Linked DNA regions of Homo sapiens: region 1 is linked to region 2. Evidence: promoter capture Hi-C in human tissues and cell types (Jung and others, 2019). All regions are on one chromosome and are shown on one strand. The core of a region is centred on a gene start or on the middle of the fragment in contact, and the rest is flanking DNA. Distances in the headings are between cores, read along the strand shown.

Region 1 (3,855 bases), core at 271-2,770, 260 kb before region 2:
TTACAGGTACCTGCCACCACACCCGGCTGAGTTTTGTATGTTTCATAGAGACGAAGTTTAACCATGTTGGCCAGGCTGGTCTCAAACTCCTGACCTCAAGTGATCCACCCGCCTGGGCCCCCCAAAGTGCTGGGATTACAGGTGTGAGCCATTGTGCCTGGCCCTTGCCAACTTTTTAATGGGGTTGTTTTCTGCTTGTTGAAATGTTTAGTTTCTTTATATATTCTGGATAGTAGATCTTTGTTGGATGCATAGTTTGTGAATATTTTCTTCCATTCTTTTTTTTTGAGACGGAGTCTCACTCTGTACCCCAGGCTGGAGTGCAGTGGCGCGATCTCGGCTCACTGCAAGCTCCGTCTCCCGGGTTCACACCATTCTCCTGCCTCAGCCTCCTGAGTAGCTGGGATTACAGGTGCCCGCCACTGCGCCCGGCTAATTTTTTGTATTTTTAGTAGAGACGGGGTTTCACTGTGGTCTCGATCTCCTGACCTCATGATCCACCCGCCTTGGCCTCCCAAGAGTGCTGGGATTACAGGCGTGAGCCACCGCGCCTGGCCTTTCTTCCATTCTTCAGTTGTCTGTCTGTTGATAGTTGCTTTTGCTTTTGCTGTGCAGAAGCTCTTTAGTTTAATGAGGTCCCACTTAACAATTTTTGTTTTTGTTGCTTTTGAGGACTTAGTCAAGAATTCTTTACCAAGGCTGATATCCAGAATAGTATTTCTCCTGCGGTTTCTTCTATGATTTTTATGGTTTGAAGTCTTACATTTAAATCTTTAACCCATCTTGAGTTAATTTTTTTTATATGGTGAAAGGTAGGGGTCCAGTTTCATTCTCTTGCATAAGGCTAGCCAGTTATCCCAGCGCCACTTAAATGAAATTTCAGCTGAGATTTGAAAGATACACATACAGGAACCAGGGCAGAATTGAGTTCTGGGCTGCAGGCTCTGGATTCAGTTCATTCATTTGTTCAATGTCTCTCTATCATTCATTCTCCAAGCATTTAGAGAGGCCTACTTTGTCCCAGGCTTGTCCTGGGTGTACTAGAGAGACCAAAGTGGAAAAGACCCTCCCCTCAGCTCTGGAGGAAGAAAACATTTCAGGGTGGGGTGAGGTCCTGCCCTCCTGCAGGTGGGGTAATCCTGCCAGGGTGACCTTGGTCAGCCATAAACTTGGGGAATGAGTGGGTGACAGGCTGGGGAGGGGCTGCCAGCAAGGAGGAAGGAGCTGGAGAGTGTGGAGGTGGGAGTGGGGGGAGAAAGGGCAGACCCCCTTCAATTTTCTGTCTTTTCTGTGGTGTGAAAGGCCCTGGCTCCCCGCTGGCTCTGAGCTCTGACTCCAGGCAGGCCGGGGAGAGAACAGTGGATGGGCCAAGACAGGTGGCCCTGTCATGTGATGTGTGCCCAGGGACTACTCAGCCCTCACTTTTAGAACGGTTTCCGGAAGTGATGGGAGGGATTGGGCAGGGCAGCTAAATATAGTCCTGGGGCCATGGCTCAGTCTGGGAGGGTCTTCCGCTGAGCACTGTGTGCCCATCACGCGTGGTGTCCACTGCCAGCTGCCCCTGTGAGTCCCTGTCCTTGCTTGGAGCCTGCTGCTTGTCTCAGATCCTTGGACCCAGCCCTGACCCCAGTCCAGCTAAGCTCAACCCTGACCGGTCCTCCTTCGAGACTCTTTCAGCCTAAGATCTCCAACCAGACCTGTGAGTCCCGTGGGCTGGAGAGAGGGGGAGGGGAGGTCTGGGTATCTTGGTAAAGTGAGGGAGGGGAGTCTCGGAGTGGGGGCTCTGGAGAATTTGGGTCCGGGACTAAGGTCAGAGGCTGAGGCCTGGGGCTAAGGCGAGGGCAAGGACAGTGGGCTAGAATCTGGGCTTGTGTTCAGGAACTGGGGTTGACTGATAGGGCATATTTTTGGGGTTGGAGCTGAGAATTGCAGTGGAGGCTGCTTTTGGGCCTGAGACCGAGTTCCTCTTTCCCCTTGGCCGTCAGAGTCCCATCCAGTGTAGGATGTGAGGTCTTTACAGGCTGGGGCTTCTCCCTGCGGGGCGGCGGGCCCGGCCTGGGCTAGGGCTGGGCCAGGGCTGGGCCGGGAGCGCGGCGCCGCGGGGTCCCCCTAACCTACTCCTCCTCCACCCAGGCCCGCCATGTCGGCTGCGCCCGGCCTCCTGCACCAGGAGCTGTCCTGCCCGCTGTGCCTGCAGCTGTTCGACGCGCCCGTGACAGCCGAGTGCGGCCACAGTTTCTGCCGCGCCTGCCTAGGCCGCGTGGCCGGGGAGCCGGCGGCGGATGGCACCGTTCTCTGCCCCTGCTGCCAGGCCCCCACGCGGCCGCAGGCACTCAGCACCAACCTGCAGCTGGCGCGCCTGGTGGAGGGGCTGGCCCAGGTGCCGCAGGGCCACTGCGAGGAGCACCTGGACCCGCTGAGCATCTACTGCGAGCAGGACCGCGCGCTGGTGTGCGGAGTGTGCGCCTCACTCGGCTCGCACCGCGGTCATCGCCTCCTGCCTGCCGCCGAGGCCCACGCACGCCTCAAGGTGCGGGATCCGCGCGCATCGTGGTCGGAGGGGCTGTTCGGTGGCACGGGGCCGATGGGGAGGTCGCTGCAGTGATTTGGATTCTGAGTCTCTAGAGAGGCTCACGAGCTCCTGGAGTTGCGGGGGGCGGGGGCGGGGCGAAGCAGCCAGGAAAGAGGGTCTGAGGAGCTTAAGGCGGGGCTGGCAGAGGAAAGCCGCGCAGGGATGGAGCCTGGCGATAAGGGCGCTGAGCAAACGTAGGTTTCCCGGCCTTAGTCCCTAGAGGAAACTGGAGATGGGCGGGCGGAGCCCCAGGGCGGGTCTGATGGGCCGGGCGGAGCCAGGCGGAGCAGGGACTGACCAGCCCCTGCGGCCCACGCTCGCATTCCTGCACCCGGTGGGCCGTTCGGGCTGGCTCCCTGCTCGGCGCTGGCCCACTTTGGACTGGAGGCGCGGCGTTCGGGACCGAGCCAGGCGGCCGGGGCAGGGTTGTCCCCTTGTGCTCAGCGGAGGCCCACGCACCCCTGAAGCTGCGGAACTTGGGCTGGCCTGACGGTCCCCAGGCGGGGCCTCACCAGAAGGGAGACTGTAAGGGCTAGGCAGCCGGGATCTGCACTTATGTGTGCGGGCCCAGGGTGGCACCGAGAGCCCCGTCCAGGATGTTTTTCTGGGTGGAGCTGGAAGTCCCGAAAGCCTTGGGAGCCCACACGCAGTTGTGCGCGTCCCGAAGTACCCAGCAGAGACACCCAGACAGAGGCAAATAGAGACGAACGCACACTGGCTGGTGCGTGTCATCCGTGTGGCAAAAGCACACACGTATAGCTACCGGCGGGCACGTGTGCGCGCAGCCCCAGTAAAGTCTGCCATGAATATTTATTGGGCAGTGGAAGAATAAATGACAGGTGCAGGGGCTGGAGGAGGCGGGGTCTGGAGGCACGGAGGCGTCCTTGGTCCCCGAGGTGGAGACACTGCTGTTGTCTTACGCGACTGGTGCGCGCGTGGGGCTGGCTTCACAGGCGTTGCATTACTCCTTTTGCCTTGACCCGCCTCCTAGAAGGGGTAGACCACCGTCCTTTCGTTGGTATTCGAGGCCCCCAGACTTCCCAGGGACCCAGCCTCTCAGTCCTGCCTGGCCCAGTTCAGCCCAGTCCTAGCTGGTGGTCTCCTAGCTCAGGGCAGGAGCCTCCTCCCGGGACCCCTCCCATCCCAGCACACCTGTGCTTAAGACCCCAACCTCAGGGCAACCCGCTCGGATCCCCTTCCATGCTGTGGAAGCTTTGTTCTTTTGCTCTTTGCAATAAATCTTGCTGCCGCTAAAAAAAAAACAAAAAACAAACAAACAAAAA
Region 2 (3,769 bases), core at 864-3,363:
CTCACAAAAACTTGCTAATTACCTCTTTCTTTTCAGCTTTTTTTTTTTTTTTTTTTGAGTCGGAATCTCACTCTGTCACCAGGCTGGAGTGCAGTGGCACAATCTCTGCTCACTGCAACCTCTGCCTCCCGAGTTCAAGTGATTCTCCTGCCTCAGCCTCCCGAGTAGCTGGGATTACAGGTGCCTGCCACCACACCCAGCTAATTTTTGTATTTTTAGTAGAGACGGGGTTTTGCCAAGTTAACCAGGCTGGTCTCCAACTCCAGACCTCAGGTGATCCGCCCGCCTCGGCCTCCCAGAGTGTTGGGATTACAGGCGTGAACCACTGAGCCTGGCCTTTAAAATATTATCATTATTATTTGAGATGGAGTCTCGCTCTGTTGCTCAGGCTGGAGTGCAGTGGCACGATCTCAGCTCACTGCAGCCTCCACCTGCCAGGTTCAAGGGATTCTTCCGCCTCAGCCTCCCAAGTAGCTGGGACTACAGGTGCCCACCACCATGTCTGGCTAATTTTTTTGTGTGTTTTTAGTAGAGACTGTTTTCACCATGTTAGCCAGGCTGGTCTCGAACTCCTGACCTCAGGGGATCCACCCACCTCGGCCTTCCAAAGTGTTAGGATTACAGGTGTGAGCCACTGCTCCTTGCCTAATTACCTGTCTTTTTTGTTATTGCCATCCTAATAGGTATGATGTGGCATCTCATTGTAGTTTTGATTTGCATTTCTCTGGGGACTAATGATGTTGAGGATCTTTTCATGTAATCATTGGCTATTTATATAACTTCTTTGAACTGTCTATTCAGGTCGTTTGCCCATTTTTTCTTCTTTTTCTTTTTTATTCTTGACACAGGGTCTCCTCTGTTGCTCAGGAGTTCAGTGGCACAATCTCAGCTCACTGCAGCCTCTGCCTCCAGGTTTCAAGCAATTCTCCTGTCTCAGCCTCCCAAGTAGCTGGAATTACAGGCTCCCACCACCACGCACAGCTAATTTTGTGTTTTTAGTAGAGATGGGGTTTTGTCATGTTGGCCAGGCTGGTCTCGAACTCCTGACCTCAAGTGACCTGCCCGCCTTGACCTCCCAAAGTGCTAGGATTATAGGTGTGAGCCACCATGCCTGTCTCGCATTTTTAAAAAGCTCCCCAGGTTGTTCCGATTTGCTGCTGGGTTGATACTCACATTCCAGTGCTCAGATCTGTCCAGAAGAGTGGCTGCAGCACAGTTGTCTGTCCATAACTACCTCTATGGCCTCTCGTTTCCACCTCGTTTCTCAGGGTCTCAGTCCAGGGAAGGCCTTGCCACTTTGTGGCTGGAGACTGTGTCTTGCTTTCTGCTCTGAGTTCATCAGTAACTTGGGAAAGGGCTGTTTCAGAGCAGGCCTGGGCCACCTCAGTGCTGAGGAAGGGCTTTGTCTTGCAGGCTGGCTGGGGGTTGGTTGCCTGGGAGTGTTTTCCCCGAATTTGCAAGGGGCTTGCGCCCGGGTTCGAGTTTACGTGTGTCCATGACCAAGTCTTGGAGGGAAGGTCCTAGTGTAGAGTCTGTGGGTGGGTTCACTGTGTCTGTCCCCGTCCCTCAGATTTCTTTGTGTCTGGTATGTATGCCTCTTGGGGCCTCTATTTATCTGTCAGGGTCTCCGATGGGAGGGTCTCCGAACCTGAGGTCTAATTGAGCCTTAGAATATCACTCCTGCTACCAATCCAAAAATTCCGTCTGGGACAAGTCTCCCAGGAATGGCATGGGTGGGAGGGAGGCTCTTGTCTAGGACTCAGGCGCTAGCTTTGAGCGGTGTCTGTTTGGGGGCCTCAGTCCGTGTCTGTAAGTCTCCCTAGGGAGCGGCTCTGGGGCTTGGTCTGGAGAAGCCACTTCTCTCTGGCTCTGGCCTCCTGGGGCTCCCTGCAGCTGAGGCCAAGGCTGGGGTGTGGCCGCCTCCGCGGCAGGCCGGCGGGCTGGGCTCGGGTGGGCCGGGGCGCTCCCTCCTTTCCACGCCCCCACCTCGGGTTCCCCCGTTCATCGCCCCCCCATCCCCATCTCAGCGGGTCCCGGCTTCCTTACATGGTCACGGCCGGGCTTCCAGCTCCCGGACGTCCCCCGCCCCCCGCCCCCACCGGACACGGCCCCCGCCCTGTTCGCCCCGCGCCACCGGCCCGCGCCCCGCCATGGAGGACCTGGGTGAGTGGGGCCGGATCCCCGGGTCCGTGGCCCCTCACCGCTGCCCAGAGCTGCCTCCCCGCCGTCGCTCTCCCGCATCTCCCCATCCCTGTCTTCTTACTTCTGCTTTTCGCCTCTGCCCGCGCCTCCTTTCCAACTCCACGTCCCCCTTCCTGCCTCTCCCTTCCTGCCTTTCCTGGGCCGGCCGCTCCCTCCCTTCTTCCCTCGCTGTGCTCCTCCATCCCAGGCTGCGGCAGATGGAACGGGAGGTGCGGCGCCCGCGGGCGCCCGGGCGCGGGGCTCTGGGGAGGGAGGGGTTAAAGGGGCCTCGGCCCGGGGACCGGGAAAGTAGAGGGCACGGGAAAGTCTGGCATCAAGTTTTGGAGAAAAAAAGCGGGCCTGCCTGCACCAGAGTTTTGGGAGAGGAGGAGTTAAGGGCTCCTGAGCACAGTGAGGGTCAGGTCCTTGAGGCAAGGAAGAGAATAGTAACTCAGGAGTGCCTAGGCGCCCGCGAAGGCTTCAGGGTTTCACGCGGGTGCTCAGAGACGAAGACTGAGGGCAGGACTTCTGGGTTCTGGAAGTGAAAGGGCTCAAAAGACCCGGATCTGGGGATGCAGGGATGGAGAGAGGTGTCTTGTCCGGAAGGGGGACCCAGGTATCTCGTCCTCCCTGCGAAGCCTGGGGCTGGAAGGCTGTGCGCTCCACGGGAGAGAGGGGCTTCCGGCCCCTGGCGGTAGAGGGCGCTGCTCGGTAGGGGTAACTGACGCTGTACCGCAGATAAACAGCCAATCAGAAGGCAGGTCCCAGCGAAGCGCCAGTGAGGAGCCCAGGGCGGGACTCAGGGGCCTGGGAGTGGCCAGGCTGGGCGGGGCCTGTGTAGGTAGAGGGAGGAGTTAACCAGCATGGAAGAGAGAGCGTCCAATCAGAAAGCTGAGGGCCAGGCACTGGGCCAATGGAGCAATTTGGAGGGGAGCCAAATTTGGCTTGGGTGAAGAGCCCATTTTGACTGCATCAGAGAAGATGGGGAGAATAAAATAATCAGGAGGCTGGGTTTGTGCTTGGCTCCAAGCGTGAGCAACTGGGATATTCTGGTCATAAATATTCCTTGCTACCCTTCGAGCAGTGCTCTGCCTGGCTCTGGCCCTGTGACCTCTTCTCTTAATACTGGCTTCTGTCCTTCTCCAGTACTGCCCACTGGGAACCTTATCTTCTGATCTAACCGTGACCCTTGTCTCTCTCCCTGATGGCCTCTTCCTGCAGATGCCCTGCTCTCTGACCTGGAGACTACCACCTCGCACATGCCAAGGTCAGGGGCTCCCAAAGAGCGCCCTGCGGAGCCTCTCACCCCTCCCCCATCCTATGGCCACCAGCCACAGGTGAGATCGGATGTTGGGGACTGGGGCAGCCACTAGGGCCAGGCTCGGCCTGGTCTATGGGGATCTCAGCCTCAGTGGGGCAGAGTGCAGGCCTGTCATCCCACCTGTGCGTCTCCGCTCTGTAGACAGGGTCTGGGGAGTCTTCAGGAGCCTCGGGGGACAAGGACCACCTGTACAGGTGAGGGGCCTGGAAACCAGGGCATGGGGGCCAACTGAGTCTCAGGTGAGGAGGCTTGGATTCCCCACCCCTG

What was found. Contacts are between HindIII fragments. The study calls those that stand out against the background at their distance.
Region 1: the fragment with the promoter of TRIM72 here is called in contact with the fragment with the promoter of TGFB1I1 in region 2 in 1 of the 25 tissues and cell types used here (lymphoblastoid cells).

What each region holds. Positions count from the first base shown.
Region 1 is chr16:31,212,599-31,216,453 of GRCh38, forward strand. TRIM72 (tripartite motif containing 72) reads left to right here and starts at 1,521. Exons shown (of 7, transcript NM_001008274.4): 1 at 1,521-1,699; 2 at 2,134-2,530. The coding sequence starts at 2,141. PYDC1 (pyrin domain containing 1) reads right to left here. Exons shown (of 2, transcript NM_152901.4): 2 at 3,364-3,559. RefSeq lists enhancers at 1,012-1,927, 1,928-2,842, 3,758-3,855. The HindIII fragment of the contact is 10,428 bases long and covers 1-3,855 here.
Region 2 is chr16:31,470,039-31,473,807 of GRCh38, forward strand. It overlaps TGFB1I1 (transforming growth factor beta 1 induced transcript 1), which reads left to right and starts at 2,114. Exons shown (of 11, transcript NM_001042454.3): 1 at 2,114-2,163; 2 at 3,403-3,518; 3 at 3,644-3,696. The coding sequence starts at 2,151. RefSeq lists an enhancer at 2,453-2,993. The HindIII fragment of the contact is 11,590 bases long and covers 1-3,769 here.